Linked DNA regions of Homo sapiens: region 1 is linked to region 2. Evidence: promoter capture Hi-C in 16 types of primary human blood cells and fetal thymus (Javierre and others, 2016). All regions are on one chromosome and are shown on one strand. The core of a region is centred on a gene start or on the middle of the fragment in contact, and the rest is flanking DNA. Distances in the headings are between cores, read along the strand shown. Region 1 overlaps BIRC6 (baculoviral IAP repeat containing 6). Region 2 holds the start of SLC30A6 (solute carrier family 30 member 6).

Region 1 (7,001 bases), core at 907-3,406, 280 kb after region 2:
ACTGTCATGATAATCTTTTAAGCAATGTCGATCTGTACCTAACGCATTATAGAATAATTTTATTCCCCATTCATTCACTAAAATGGGCTGTTTGAAGCTCACTGCCATCCACTATTTTTTAAAGTTTAGTACAGAGAAACAGTATGTTGGTAAGGATGATTTGAAGGACCTTCAGTCTCCTCACTTTTTCAGCTATTTCGAAGTGTCCCTCAGAGGCATCTCACATTATTATACACCTAAATAAATACACATTATTATACACCTAAATGACTTTATAAAACTCTCCAGAAATATTTGAAATTCTTAGTGTAAGACTGTGCCTCAGTGTGTTGTTTATATTTTAAGTGTCCTCTTTGATCCCTCCAAGGAGTTATCTTTGTAAATTGCCTATAAGATTGTCTTTCCAGAAAAGGGAGTATCTTTCTAGCAAAAGGAAGTATTCTGATAAATAGGTAATCTTAAATTCTCATTGTTAGAGGAAAAGGAGGAAAAAGAAACATTTATTTTGTTTTTATTGTTTCCAGGTTCTGTCTATTGGTATTTTGTCTTACTGAATTATGTGAAAGATGAAGATCTGGCTGGATGCAGTACAGCTTGTGCATCTTTGCTTACTGCAGTGTCCAGACAGTTACAGGACAGGCTAACACCAATGGAGGCTTTACTTCAGACAAGGTATTTTAGTATATCTAATGACTAATAATAGGCGTCTCTGAGTATGATCACGCTTTTGCAGAGAACTGTTATTTAATATATATATGCTGATAACAGTCTTTTTCTTACAAAAATGTTTAGTTTATACCTTACTTTTTCCATACGATAATAGCCTGAGGTTTTACTTTCTTCTGTTTTGTCAGAAATTACTCTTTTTTTTTTTTATCGAGATGGAGTTTTGTTCTTGTTGCCCAGGCTGGAGTGCAATGGTGTGATCTCAGCTCACCACAACCTCCATCTCCCGGGTTCAAGCGATTCTCCTGCCTCAGCCTCCCGAGTAGCTGGGATTACAGGCATGCACCACAGGCCTGGCTAATTTTGTATGTTTAGTAGAGACGGGGTTTCTTCATGTTGGTCAGGCTGTTCGCAAACTCCCAACCTCAGTTGATCCGCCCGCCTCAGCCTCCCAAAGTGCTGGGATTACAGGCATGAGCCACCGTGCCCGGCCAGAAATTACTCTTTAACAGTTTGATAAATCCTTATGATGGTTATTCAGAGGGCTAATTTTATTTAATAATGAAAAGTGGTATGCCCTGCTAATGGAAGAAGAATGTAATGTGTCTGTTTCTCTGTGCACTTTATAGGTGGAATTATGTGAGTCACTTATTGTCCCATAACTAGTATTCTTCTACCTGCTACTTGTATTTCAAAACTTCTAACGTGATGAATTAAGCAATAGCAAAAGGTTAGATTTAAGTTCTTGCCTGATTGTCTACGTTTGAAGTAAGGCGTTCCTTTATTTAGAGCAGTGATTTTATAATTTCCTAGGTTAGATGTTCTGATTTTGATGACATTTTACTCAAAGCCTTTGTACTTGAGGCTATGTCGTAATGATTCACGGGAGAGAATGGTGCCTGATACCCCTCGCTTCAATCTGCAGGTGGCAGTCTTAGTACCTTAGTTGCCAGCTTATTGGAATCACATTTGTTGAGTCTCTGGACAGTGTCTTTTAGAGTATAGATTGCAGGGAACATAGTTGAGATTCACTGAATTTGATGGGTCAAATCTAGTCAGCATCTCCCTCTGCGCTGTTTTTTTTTTTTTTTTTTTTTTTTTTTTTTTTTATTGATCATTCTTGGGTGTTTCTCGCAGAAGGGGATTTGGCAGGGTCATAGGACAATAGTGGAGGGAAGGTCAGCAGATAAACAAGTGAACAAAGGTCTCTGGTTTTCCTAGGCAGAGGACCCTGCGGCCTTCCGCAGTGTTTGTGTCCCTGGGTACTTAAGATTAGGGAGTGGTGATGACTCTTAACGAGCATGCTGCCTTCAAGCATCTGTTTAACAAAGCACATCTTGCACCGCCCTTAATCCATTTAACCCTGAGTGGACACAGCACATGTTTCAGAGAGCACAGGGTTGGGGATAAGGTCACAGATCAACAGGATCCCAAGGCAGGAGAATTTTTCTTAGTACAGAACAAAATGAAAAGTCTCCCATGTCTACCTCTATCCACACAGACCCGGCAACCATCCGATTTCTCAATTTTTTCCCCACCCTTCCCGCCTTTCTATTCCACAAAACCGCCATTGTCATCATGGCCCATCCCCAATGAGCCGCTGGGCACACCTCCCAGACGGGGTCGTGGCCGGGCAGAGGGGCTCCTCACTTCCCAGTAGGGGCGGCCGGGCAGAAGCGCCCCTCACCTCCCGGATGGGGCGGCTGGCCGGGCGGGGGGCTGATCCCCCCACCTCCCTCCCGGACGGGGCGGCTGGCCGGGCGGGGGGCTGACCCCCCACCTCCCTCCCGGACTGGGCGGCTGGCCGGGCGGGGGGCTGATCCCCCCACCTCCCTCCCGGACGGGGCGGCTGGCCGGGCAGAGGGGTCCTCACTTCCCAGTAGGGGCGGCCGGGCAGAGGCGCCCCTCACCTCCCGGACGGGGCGGCTGGCCAGGCGGGGGGCTGATCCCCCCACCTCCCTCCCGGACGGCGCGGCTGGCCGGGCAGGGGGCTGACCCCCCCTCCCCCCTCCCGGACTGGGCGGCTGGCCGGGCGGGGGGCTGACCCCCCCCACCTCCCTCCTGGTCGGGGCGACTGGCCGGGCAGAGGGGCTCTTCACTTCCCAGTAGGGGCGGCCGGGCATAGGAGCCCCTCACCTCCCGGACGGGGCCGCTCGCCGGGCGGGCCCCCCTATCCCCCCACCTCCCTCCCGGACGGGGTCGCTGCCGGGCGGAGACGCTCCTCACTTCCCAGACGGGGTGGCTGCTGGACGGAGGGGCTCCTCACTTCTCAGACGGGGCGGTTGCCAGGCAGAGGGTTTCCTCACTTCTCAGACGGGGCGGCCGGGCAGAGGCGCTCCTCACATCCCAGACAGGGCGGCGGGGCAGAGGTGCTCCCCACCTCTCAGACGATGGGCGGCCGGGCAAAGACGCTCCTCACTTCCTAAATGGGATGGCGGCGGGGAATAGGCGCTCCTCGCTTCCTAGATGGGATGGCGGCCGGGCAAAAACGCTCCTCACTTTCCAGACTGGGCAGCCAGGCAGAGGGGCTCCTCATATCCCAGACGATGGGCGGCCAGGCAGAGACGCTCCTCACTTCCCAGACGGGGTGGCGGCCGGGCAGAGGCTGCAATCTCGGCTCTTTGGGAGGCCAAGGCAGGCGGCTGGGAGGTGGTTGTAGCGAGCCGAGATCACGCCACTGCACTCCAGCCTTGGCACCATTGAGCACTGAGTGAACGAGACTCCGTCTGCAATCCCGGCACCTCGGGAGGCCGAGGCTGGCGGATCACTCGCGGTTAGGAGCTGGAGACCAGCCCGGCCAACACAGCAAAACCCCGTCTCCACCAAAAAAAACCGAAAACCAGTCAGGCGTGGCGACGCGCGCCTGCAATGGCAGGCACTCGGCAGGCTGAGGCAGGAGAATCAGGCAGGGAGGTTGCAGTGAGCCGAGATCGCAGCAGTACAGTCCAGCTTCGGCTCGGCATCAGAGGGAGACCGTGGAAGGGGACCGTGGAGAGGGGAGAGGGGAGAGGGGAGAGGGGAGAGGGAGAGCCCTCTGCGCTGTTAGTCAGACTGCTTTTAAAACTAAGTAAAGGTAATTTGTTAATTAGATGGCTGAAAGGAAAATTGTTAGTGCATTATTTTATTTTTCAGATATGGATTATATAGCTCACCATTTGATCCAGTCCTCTTTGATTTGGAGATGAGTGGCTCTTCTTGTAAAAATGTTTATAACAGCAGCATTGGTGTCCAGTCAGATGAAATTGATTTATCAGATGTCCTTTCAGGTAGTGATTTCTTTTATTAAAGGAAATTCTGAATGTTGTATCTTGGATTTAAGTTGCCATTTGACTTAATAGATTATAGTCATGATGTTTTGTCTTTAGAAAACTAAAATTCCTTAGAACTTATCATATGAATTATTAAAATGTTTCCTAGAAGTTCTTAACTTCCTCTTTCCCTCTGAAGAAAATCCCAGTATATTAAAGTCATATTTGAAAGGGTTGTGACTTTAATTTTTTGTTTTTGTTATGCATTTCATTTCAGTGTGATTTTAATGCTTATGAGACTATTTAAAATGTATTTGTTGTAGCCTTTTCAGTTTTATTTGATGTATCTTTGCTGCCTCTATAAAGTTAAAAAAGATTTCCTATTTCAAAAATACAAAATTAGTAATATATACTTACTGTAATAAGGATGCACAAACAAAAGATAATTTTCTGCATCTGTCACTTTCTTGAGGTAAGCTTTGTATACATTACGTATATCCTTTTATACTTTCTAAAGAATGTGTTTTTCGGATGTATGCATGACACTATTTTTATAATCTTTTTAAGTGCTAAAATTTGCTGTTTATTTTTGTTAGATAAAAGAGTGACCATTTCATTTTTTTCTTCCGTCTAATTGTACTTATTGCAGATGTTGTTAGGATACAAAAATGTTAGAAAATTTGCAAACAGATTAAGGTAATAACCAGATATAAGTAAATTTTGAGAGAGAAGTTCAATTTTGTTGAAAAGTAACTTATGAGGTGTAATAAAAGCAAAATTAAAAAGATCAAATACAAAAATATAAATGAAATGTAAAATGCCTCAACCCCAACCTTTCCACCCTCTTAGGTTACTATTGTTAACTGGATGTTTAGCTATTTAAACTTGTTTGCAACCTGTATTCGTTAATATAGTTTCTAATGAAAGAGCATACTACACATACTGGTCTGTCACTTGCTTTTTAATTGCTTATGCTGCCTTGAATATATGTGTTATTACTATTTGATGACTTAGGCTCTTGATTGCCTTACACGCATCTCACCATTTTCTGTCTTCTCTATCCAAGTGATGCATCAATTAGACCATTGTAATTTATGATTGGAACTAGTAGGAGAGACTAGAACTGGAGATACCAATGCCTTCAGTATACCAAAAGAAGCAGTGAAATCTGTTAGGGTGAAAGCGTAAGGGAAGGACTGTAAGGTTCATTCCAAGCTCTGAGGTCATCAAGTTTGCAAATGAGTAAAGAAGACTCAGAACAAGGAATTTAGAAATCATGATATGTCGGCCGGGCACGGTGGCTCACGCCTGTAATCCCAGCACTTTGGGAGGCTGAGGTGGGCAGATCACGAGGTCAGGAGATCGAGACCATCCTGGCTAACACGGTGAAACCCCGTCTCTACTAAAAATGCCAAAAAATTAGCCAAATGCGGTGATGGGCACCTGTAGGCTGAGGCAGGAGAATGGCGTGAACCCGGGAGGCAGAGCTTGCAGTGAGCTGAGATAGCGTCACTGCACTCCAGCCCGGGCGAAAGAGTGAGACTCCGCCTCAAAAAAAAAAATCATGATATGTCTCCACTTTAATGTCTCATTGTGTTGTTCCTCATTATTAGTCTCTCTACAGCATTTTTTGTTGTTGTTGTTAATGGCATCAGTGGCACAAGACAGAAATGTAAATGTCATTCATGATACTTATATCTTTCTTATCACCCACATTGAGGATATCACCATATGGCACCTATTTTTCCACCAGTGTATGCAGTTGTTCCTCTCTATCCGTGGGGAATTGGTTCCAGGACTCCTCGCAGACAACAAAATCTGTAGATACTCAAGTCCCTTATGAAAAATGATGTAGTGCAGTTTGTGTATAACTTACACACATCCTGCTGTGTGCCTTAAATCATTTCTACATCACTTATAATACCTAATACGATGTTAATGCTACATGAGTACTTCTTATACTGTATTGTTTAGGGAATAATGACAAGAAAAAAAGGCTGTAACAGACTCAGCCATTCATTTTTTTCCCCTGAATATTTTCTGTCTGTAGTTGGTTGAATCCATGGATGCCAAACCCACAGATACAGAGAGCTGAGTGTATGTCAAGTTTGCTCACTCTGTTACCTCCCATGATCACAAGTTACAGTCATCTTGAACCCATACTACAATCATAGCTTTCACACTGGTCTGCCTACATCTGTTCTTGCCTCACTTTAGTGCATTCTCCACATTGCATTGAGTATGATCTTTCAGTTACTTTACCTTTCTCCTTAGAGTACTTTTCAGGTCTTCCCATCTTCTGAAGTTCAAAGTTTCTAATACAGCATATAAAATCCTAAATGATTTGGCTCTCTTTTCCTTGCCACTTTATCTTGTGTCATTGCCCCGTTTAGTCTTTTTTGGCCCTGTGATTCTCAAAGTGTGTTCTATAGACCCCCAAAGGGTTCCTGAGATCATTAAGGGGATCTATATGGTCATAACTATTTTGATGATAGTAGAATGATGTTATTTGTCTTTTTGATTTCGTTGACATTTTTATCGATTGTGAAAAAGCATGGTGTTATTCACTGTGCACTTGTAATAAAAATGTCGGTTTCATTTTAAAATGCCCTTGACGTTGCAGTAAAAATTATTAATTTTATTAAAATTTTAACCCATGAATACACATCTTTTATTCTGAGATGAATGATACATATGCATAGAGTACTTCTGTGGCATGCCAAAGTACCATGCTTGTTTCAGGGAGATGTGAAGTTCAGTTACAAGCTGAACTACTTGCTTGTTTCTTGGAATACCATTTTTATTTGCAGTAATGACTGACAGACAAACTACGCCCATTTGCACTGCGTTATTTGACAGTTGTTTTTTGAAAAGTGAATGAGAAACATCTCCCATAGTGAGCTTGATAGCTTCCCAGTATGTAGACTTTTCTCATGGAGTCTGATATTAGAGAGTGTAATTTTCCAATACTGGATAATGAAATGTGTCAACATTTGGAATATTTGTATACAGTGGTGAACCAATATTTTCCAAATGATCAATGCATGATGTTTCACCAGTATGCATGGGTAAAGTTCTTTAAAAGTA
Region 2 (7,683 bases), core at 2,157-4,656:
GAGCACATAAAGTACCCATATCTTGCCTTCCAAATTCTTCACTGTCTTAGTCTGCTTGGGCTGCATTACAAAATACCATAGACTGGGCAGCTTAAATAACAGAAATTTATCCTCACAGTTCTAGAAGCTTGGAAGTCCAAGATTAAAGTACCAGCCAGTTTGGTTTCTAGTGAGGGCTTTCTTCCTGGCTTGCAGATGGCCACCTTCTCACCGTGTCCTTGTATGGCAGACAGCACAAGCTCTCTGGTGTCCCTTTTTAAAAGGGCATTAATCCCATCATGACAGTCCCATCCTCATTATCTCATCTAACCCTAGGTACTTCCCAAAGGCTGAATCACCAAAGACCATCACATTGCTGGTGAAGGCTTCAACATATGAATTTGAGGGACACGAATATTCAGTCCATAACATCAACTAAAGGAACCAAGACTCTTTGATAAAATGGCTAAATTCAGGGCTGGGGCAGAGAAAATACATGAGTGTGGAACTTCTTGTGCCAGAGAGAAAAAGTGCCCAAAGATTGATGAGGATGAATCATTGAAATGACACACAGATTAAAAGGGTTCCCACTGGACAAATTTGAGCATCAAAATAAGTAATAGTAGTAATTAATTATAACCCATCAGAAGAAATAAACCATGAGCTCATGTGAATATATGAATACAAACATAAACAAATTACAAGCATAATGAGGAATGTGATATTTATATGGTTTAAAGGTACCTCTCCAGGCCGGGTGCAGTGGCTCATGCCTGTAATCCCAGCACTTTGGGAGGCCAAGGCAGGTAGATCACCTGAGGTCAGGCATTTGAGACCAGCCTGCACAACATGGTGAAACCCTGACTCTACTAAAAATACAAAAATTAGCCGGGCGTGGTGGCACGTGTCTATAATCTGCCACTGATTAGGTGTGTGATTTTCCCAAGCAGGGGATAATAGTAGTACCTATGTCAAAGGCTGTTATGAGGATTAAATGAGCTAACACATAATCGTGCTTTTTTTTTTTTTTTTTTTTTTTGAGACAGAGTCTTGCACTGTCGCCTGGGCTGGAGTGCAATGGCACGATCTCGGCCCACTGCAACCTCTGCCTCCCAGGTTCAAGTGATTCTCCTGCCTCAGCCTCCTGAGTAGCTGGGATTACAGGCTCCTGCCACCACACCTGGCTATTTTCAATAGAGACGGGGTTTCACTATGTTGGCCAGGCTAGTCTCAAAAACCTGACCTCGTGATCCACCCGCTTTGGCCTCCCAAAGTGCTGGGATTACAGGCATGAGCCACTGCACCCGGCTTTTTTTTTTTTTTTTTGAGATGGAATCTCTCTCACCCAGGCTTCATCTCAGCTCAGTGCAACCTCCGCCTCCTGGGTTCAAGCAATTCTCCTGCCTCAGCCTCCCGAGTAGCTGAGATTACAGGTGCCTGCCACCACACCCGGCTAAGTTTTATATTTTTAGTAGAGACGGGGTTTTGCCATGTTGGCCAGGCTGATCTCAAACTCTTGACCTCAAGTGATCTGCCTGCCTCAGCCTCCCAAAGTGCTGGGATTACAGGCATGAGGCACTGTGCCTGGCCTCAAATTCTTAGAATACTGCCTACCACATATTGAATGTTCATTAAATCCTAGGTATAGGACAGGGGTGTTGGCTCATGCCTGTAATGCTAGCATCTTGGGAGGCTGAGGCAGGAGGATCACTTGAGCCCAGGAGTTCCAGACCAGCCTGCGCAACATAGCAAGACCTCTCCTCTACTAAAAAAGATTACTGTGGCTGCAGTGTGGAGAACAGATTGTCGATAGATGATAATACCTACGATTTTATTTATTTTTTACTTCTTATTTATTTTTTTGAGATGAAGTGTTGCACTGTTGCCCAGGCTGGAGAGCAGGGGCACGATCTCGCCTCACTGCAACCTCTGCCTCCCGGGTTCAAGCAATTCTCCTGCCTCAGCCTTCTTAGCAGCTGGGATTACAGGCACCCGCCACTACGCCCAGCTAATTTTTTTTATCTTTAGTACAGACAGGGTTTCACCATGTTGGCCAGGCTGGTCTCAAACTCCTGACCTCGTGATTCGCCCGCCTAGGCCTCCCAAAGTGCTGGGATTACAGACGTGAGCACCACACCTACTCAGTTGTTCTGTATACCATTACATGTTCAGCAACCCTAATCCAACCATCTGAAATTAAAATGCTCCAAAATCAAAACTTTTTGATCATCAACACGATGCCACAGTGGAAAATTCCACACCTGACCGCATGTAAAAAGCTGTAGTCAAAATTTTGTTTGATACACACACAATTTTTAAAATTGCATAAAATTACCCTGAGGCTATGTGCATAAGGTGTATACGAAACATAAATGAATTTCAAGTTTAGCCTCTGGCCCCATCCCCAAGATAAAGAGCCACAATCTGAAACAGTTCTGGTCTTAAGCATTTGGGATGAAGGATACTCAACCTATACCCAGTTTTCTACACGACACTACTTATGAATATCTTTTAAAAATTTCTTTATCCCTACTTGTTTTCTGTCTTCCCTACCAGAATATAATTTTCACGAGACCAGTATCTGACAAACACACGTGCTACATATTCAATCTTTATCGAATGAATTTAATATTTTCCAAGTTTTCTATAATTAACATTACTTCTATATTATTAATTTTATAGAGAATCCAAATAGCATTTTATTAAGTAGACCATTAGTCGGTCCGAGTTCAAATTCTGCTACTACAGCAAACTATATGTAGGACTCAAGGCAAGTTTCTTTTTTTTGAGACGGAGTCTCGCGCTGTCGCCCAGGCTGGAGTGTAGTGGCGCGATCTCGGCTCACTGCAACCTCCGCCTCCTAGGTTCAAGCGATTCTCCTGCCTCAGCCTCCAGAGTAGCTGGGATTACAGGCGCGTGCCACTACGCCCGGCTAATTTTTGCATTTTTAGTAGAGCCGGGGTTTCACCATGTTGGCCAGGCTGGTCTCGAACTCCTGACCTCAAGTGATCCGCCTGCCTCGCCGCCGAAAGTGCTGGGATTACAGGAGTGAACCACCACGCCTGGCGGAGGCAAGTTTCTTAATCTTCTTTCCTCACTTGTAAAACTGGAATACTGTCCATTTTCATAAGGTTAAATCATACAACACAGGTAAAAGCGCTTCAGCACGCAACGAAATTTTTCTAACGTAACGAAAAACTCCTCGTTGCTCCTTGCCTTGCCCTTAACCTCAACGCTTCAGGTCCCGACCAATCTCTCGGAGAGCTCAGAGGGAGCCGCTCTAGCCGCCTTCCGCCACGGAGTGCAGGGACAGCCGGGAAGGGGACGGAAGCCGGAGGCCAGAGCACGCACTTCCTCCCACGCTTTCCTCACAGCCAATCGCCCACTGGTGCCCCACCCCTTCCGTTCTGGGAAAACTCGAGCACCCAGAACGGCTTCCGGCGGGAGCTGTGCAGCTCCTTATCATGGTGAGTTGGCTGTTGGGGTGAGGGTTTCGGCTGTAGCTGATTCGGTTTATCTTATTTGGTCCCGAAGCGACCTTGAAATCCCTCAGCCACCCAGAGGAGGGGTCATTGGAGTTGAAGTCGGGCCCCTTGGCAGGAGCGGCTGTCTCCCAAAATGTTCCCCTTCAGAGTTCTGGTCCCTTTCGGTCCCTCACCTGTTCCGCAGGCGCTCACGATCTAGGCCCCGCTGCAGGCAGAGCTTTCAGCTCCTGGCGAGTTTCTGACTTCCCTCTGCCGAGATTTCTTTAAGGTAATAAAAGTTTTTGCCAGCGTCAACAACTAGGCCACCAACAAAAGATCTGAAAACAAGTCCACAGCAACAACTGTAATAGTGATTCTTAGAGCAGTGGCGATAACGCCAGCGGAAAAAAAAAAAAAAGGTTAGTAATAGGGTTTTAGGGCAGACGTCTCACTCTGCAACTTGGCTTTACTAAATATTAAGTAGCCTGATTACGGCAGCAAATTTCATAAGCGCAGTAACTACAGAAAGTCAAGGTGTTGGTAGGACATTTTATTGCTGCTTTATTTCTGGGTTTGTAGAAACTAATGGAAGACCCAGTAGACGTTATGGTTGTTGGGATATGGTGTTTTCTCTCAAATTTGTTAGAATTAGTCATTCTTTGCCTTTAGAGCTCAAATATATAGCTCTGAACTTTAAAGATAAGCAGTTGGTTGGGATTTGAAGTGTCCAAGTGGCGTGTGCCTTTTGAAAATGCATTTATTAGAAAAATTTATGGAGTACTTATTGATAGCCTACGTATGAGAAAGAGACCACATTTCTGTGCCTAAGCTTTTGTCACTGTACTAAGTTTTTTACTTAAGTGGATATGGTCGGGAAAATGCCTCATTCACACACTTTATGTTTTGTAAATTTTCTGTAATCCTTTTGCACACAGAAAATGGGTAAAAGTTTACACTTTTTGGCTAATGATCAAATAGCCTTCAGTTACGCTCTTCTTCAAAACATTCACCATTGTGAAGCCTGTAGCCAGAGTTATATTTCTAAAATTTGACCACATCACTCCCTTACTCAAATTTTCTCCTTTTTTTTTTTTCTGTAGCACTCAAGATAAAGTCCTGTTTAGCATGGCATACAAAGCCACTCATTATCAAGCTTCTTACTTTTACAGCCTCTTTTTTTGTTGTTGTTTTCGAGACGGAGTTCCACTCTTGTTGCCCAGGCTGGAGTGCAATGGCGCGATCGCGGCTCACCACAACTTCCGCCTCCCGGGTTCAAGCGATTCTCCTGCCTCACCTTCCCGAGCAGCTGGGATTACAGGAATGCGCCACCACGCCTGGCTAATTTTGTATTTTTAGTAGAGACGGGGTTTCTCCATGTTGGTCAGGCTGATCGCGAACTCCTGACCTCAGGTGATCCTCCCGCCTCTGCCTCCCAAAGTGCTGGGATTACAGGCGTGAGCCACCGTGCCAGGCCACAAACTCTTTTTTTTTTTTTTTTTTTAATGCATACATGTATGCAACATCCGTATTTCAGCCACAGTGAATAGCTTGCAAATCATGCTGTATTAATTGAGCCTTTGTACCTAATTTGCATATGCTCTTCCATCCCCAGAATTGTTCTCTGTTCTCTATCGGCTGTCCTTATCAGAATAACCCTTATATATCCTTAATTATTTTTCATGAACCTTTCCCTCATGTTCCAGTATCCTCTTAGTTGCTTCTCCTTTGTGCTCTGGTGGTACCTTGTGCTTTTATATGCACAAACACACACACACACACACCAGTTTTGTTACATAAAGCTGCACAAAACGAATACATACAATAGAAACTTAACTTGCCTATAATACTGATGATTTGAAGGGAGTTGAAGATAAAGGGATAAGAGACTTAAAATTCAGAGGTCTTTCAGATTATACACCTTCATTAACTCACAGCCCTAATTTAAGAAAGTAAAACTTGAATCTCTTGTGTTTTTTACCAGTAACATCTGTAATCCTTACAGACGATGTTAAAGTTGTGTACTTATTTGTCTTTCTCACTTTCTAGACTGTAAGCTCATTGAGAGCAGGACCTATGTATTTCACCCTAATTCCCAGAGCTTTGTAGCGTGCCTGGCCCAGAGGAAGTTTTCAATAAACATCTGTTTTATAAGACACTGAAAACTTATGGCACTATATCTTTATGCTTGAAACATTAGTATTAGTCATGCAGGGAAACAGTATTTAAGGTTTATTTTAAAGGATATTGAGAAAAGGTTTTGCGTTTATTAAGAACATGCTATGTGAAAACAGTACTTTCTTAGAAAATATAAAGAAAAATACAAATAAAACGTCTGTTTTATAAAGCACTGAAAACCTATGGCACTATATCTTTATGCTTGAAACATCAGTATTAGTCATGCAGGGAAACAGTATTTAAGGTTTATTTTTTAAAATAAATATTTTAAAATAAAATATTGAGAAAAAGGTTTTGTGTTTATTAACATGCTGTGTGAAAACAGTGCCTTCTTAGAAAATATAAATAATATAAATATATAATATTAAAAATATAAGTATATAAAAACAAAATATAAAGGAAAATAGCCCTTGTCATTAGTGAAGTTACTAAAATTACAAAGCAATGTAACAAGTTGAAGGCTTTACTTTGGTTAATGCAAAATAAGTGGCATAAAAAACACTATAGTTTGGAATGATCTAGGAAGACTTCATTTAAGAAGTGAAACATGAAACTAAGTACTTTGTGCCCCACTCTAATACTCTTAATCTAATACTTGTTTGTCATTATATGAATAAGAGCTTGGGTTAGACAGATCTGGCCTTTTCACGCAAGAGTGGTCATGAGACAAAAGAGTAGACCAGTTTAACTGAAGTTGAGGGTTTCTATCTGGAGTAAGAGATAAGACTGGAAAGAAACAGGCTAAGTCATTGAAAACCTGGAAATTCAGGTTGTAAAATTTGTAGTTTATTCTGATAGCAATGGCGAGCCAATATAATTTTGGGAAGAGTGATATGACATTAGGATTTTTGTTTTATTTTCATTGTCAGGATGGCATCAGAAGTGGCTTTCTGCCTCTTAGAAACCTTGTTGATTCTCTTAACCTGAAACTTAAAGTTGGCTAGGGTTAAACAGAAGATGTCCAAAATAACAGTATTAAGGAGAATTTTTTAAATCTTTGGAACCAAAATAACTCACACATAATTCTTTAAGAAAAGAATATATATACATATGTACATACACATATATATAATATTTATACATATGTACATTTATTTATGTATTTATTTATTTATTTCGAGATGGGGTCTCGCTCTGTTGCCCAGGCTTGAGTAAAGTGTGAACCTGGCTCACTGCTTGACTTCCCGGGCTCATGCGATCCTTCCACCTTGGTGTCCTGAGTAGCTGGGACTACAGGCATGTACCACTATGCCTGGCTAATTTTTTTCTTTTCAATTTTTTTGTAGAGACAGGGTCTCAGTATATTTCCTAGGCTGGTCTTGAACTCCTGGGCTCAACTGATCCTCCTGACTCAGTCACCCAAAGTGGTGGAATTACAGGCATGAGCCACCATGGCCAGCCAAGAAAAAGATATATTTATTGGCTGGGTGCGGTGGCTCACGCCTGTAATCCCAGCACTTTGGGAGGCCAAGGCGGGCGGATCACGAGGTCAGGAGATCAAGACCATCCTGGCTAACACGGTGAAACCCCGTCTCTACTAAAGGTAAAAAAAAATTAGCCGGGCGTGGTGGTGGGTACCTGTAGTCCCAGCTACTCCTTCACCGCAGAATGGGGCTGCGACAGAGTGAATATCCTGTTTGCCGTGTAGCCTATATTTAAAATCAGACTGTCCTCCTCAAAAGCAGCTGGAACTGAGGTTCAAGAGATGGATGTGACTGTGTATAGGGAGAGGCATACCATTTTTATTTTTAAAGTATCAAGAGAAATCATGATTTCACATTAACAATACAAAGTTGCAAAAGCAAATGTGAATAATGAGCAGGTACTGATTTGGCCAGCTTTATAAATGTGTAACTTTTAAAACTGGGTTATTCATCTTTTTAAAAATAGTTTGTGGAAGCTCATTGTGTATAGAGAAAATTGGCCTATTGTCTGTTGTGAATTATAGTTTTTTTTCAGTTTGACCTTCTTAAAGTTTTTTTCCCCCTTAAGGGTATTACATTCGCCCATGAAATTATATAGTAAAATCAATCAATTTTTTTCCTTTAGAGCTTCTTGGGTTTTA

The links. The method cuts DNA at HindIII sites, captures the fragments that hold promoters and counts their contacts. A CHiCAGO score of 5 or more calls a contact.
Region 1: a fragment that was not itself captured here is called in contact with the fragment with the promoter of SLC30A6 in region 2 in 2 of 17 cell types (total CD8 T cells and neutrophils); the score reaches 5.7 in total CD8 T cells.

Annotation. Positions count from the first base shown.
Region 1 is chr2:32,444,997-32,451,997 of GRCh38, forward strand. BIRC6 (baculoviral IAP repeat containing 6) reads left to right here. Exons shown (of 74, transcript NM_016252.4): 21 at 525-672; 22 at 3,799-3,932. Among named protein-coding and RNA genes, the nearest start is that of MIR558, 84 kb to the right of the region's middle. RefSeq lists an enhancer at 2,269-2,846. The HindIII fragment of the contact is 4,466 bases long and covers 1-4,389 here.
Region 2 is chr2:32,162,458-32,170,140 of GRCh38, forward strand. SLC30A6 (solute carrier family 30 member 6) reads left to right here and starts at 3,407. Exons shown (of 14, transcript NM_017964.5): 1 at 3,407-3,446. The coding sequence starts at 3,444. It overlaps SLC30A6-DT (SLC30A6 divergent transcript), which reads right to left and starts at 3,282. Exons shown (of 1, transcript NR_185886.1): 1 at 2,584-3,282. RefSeq lists an enhancer at 4,727-5,243. The HindIII fragment of the contact is 4,145 bases long and covers 126-4,270 here.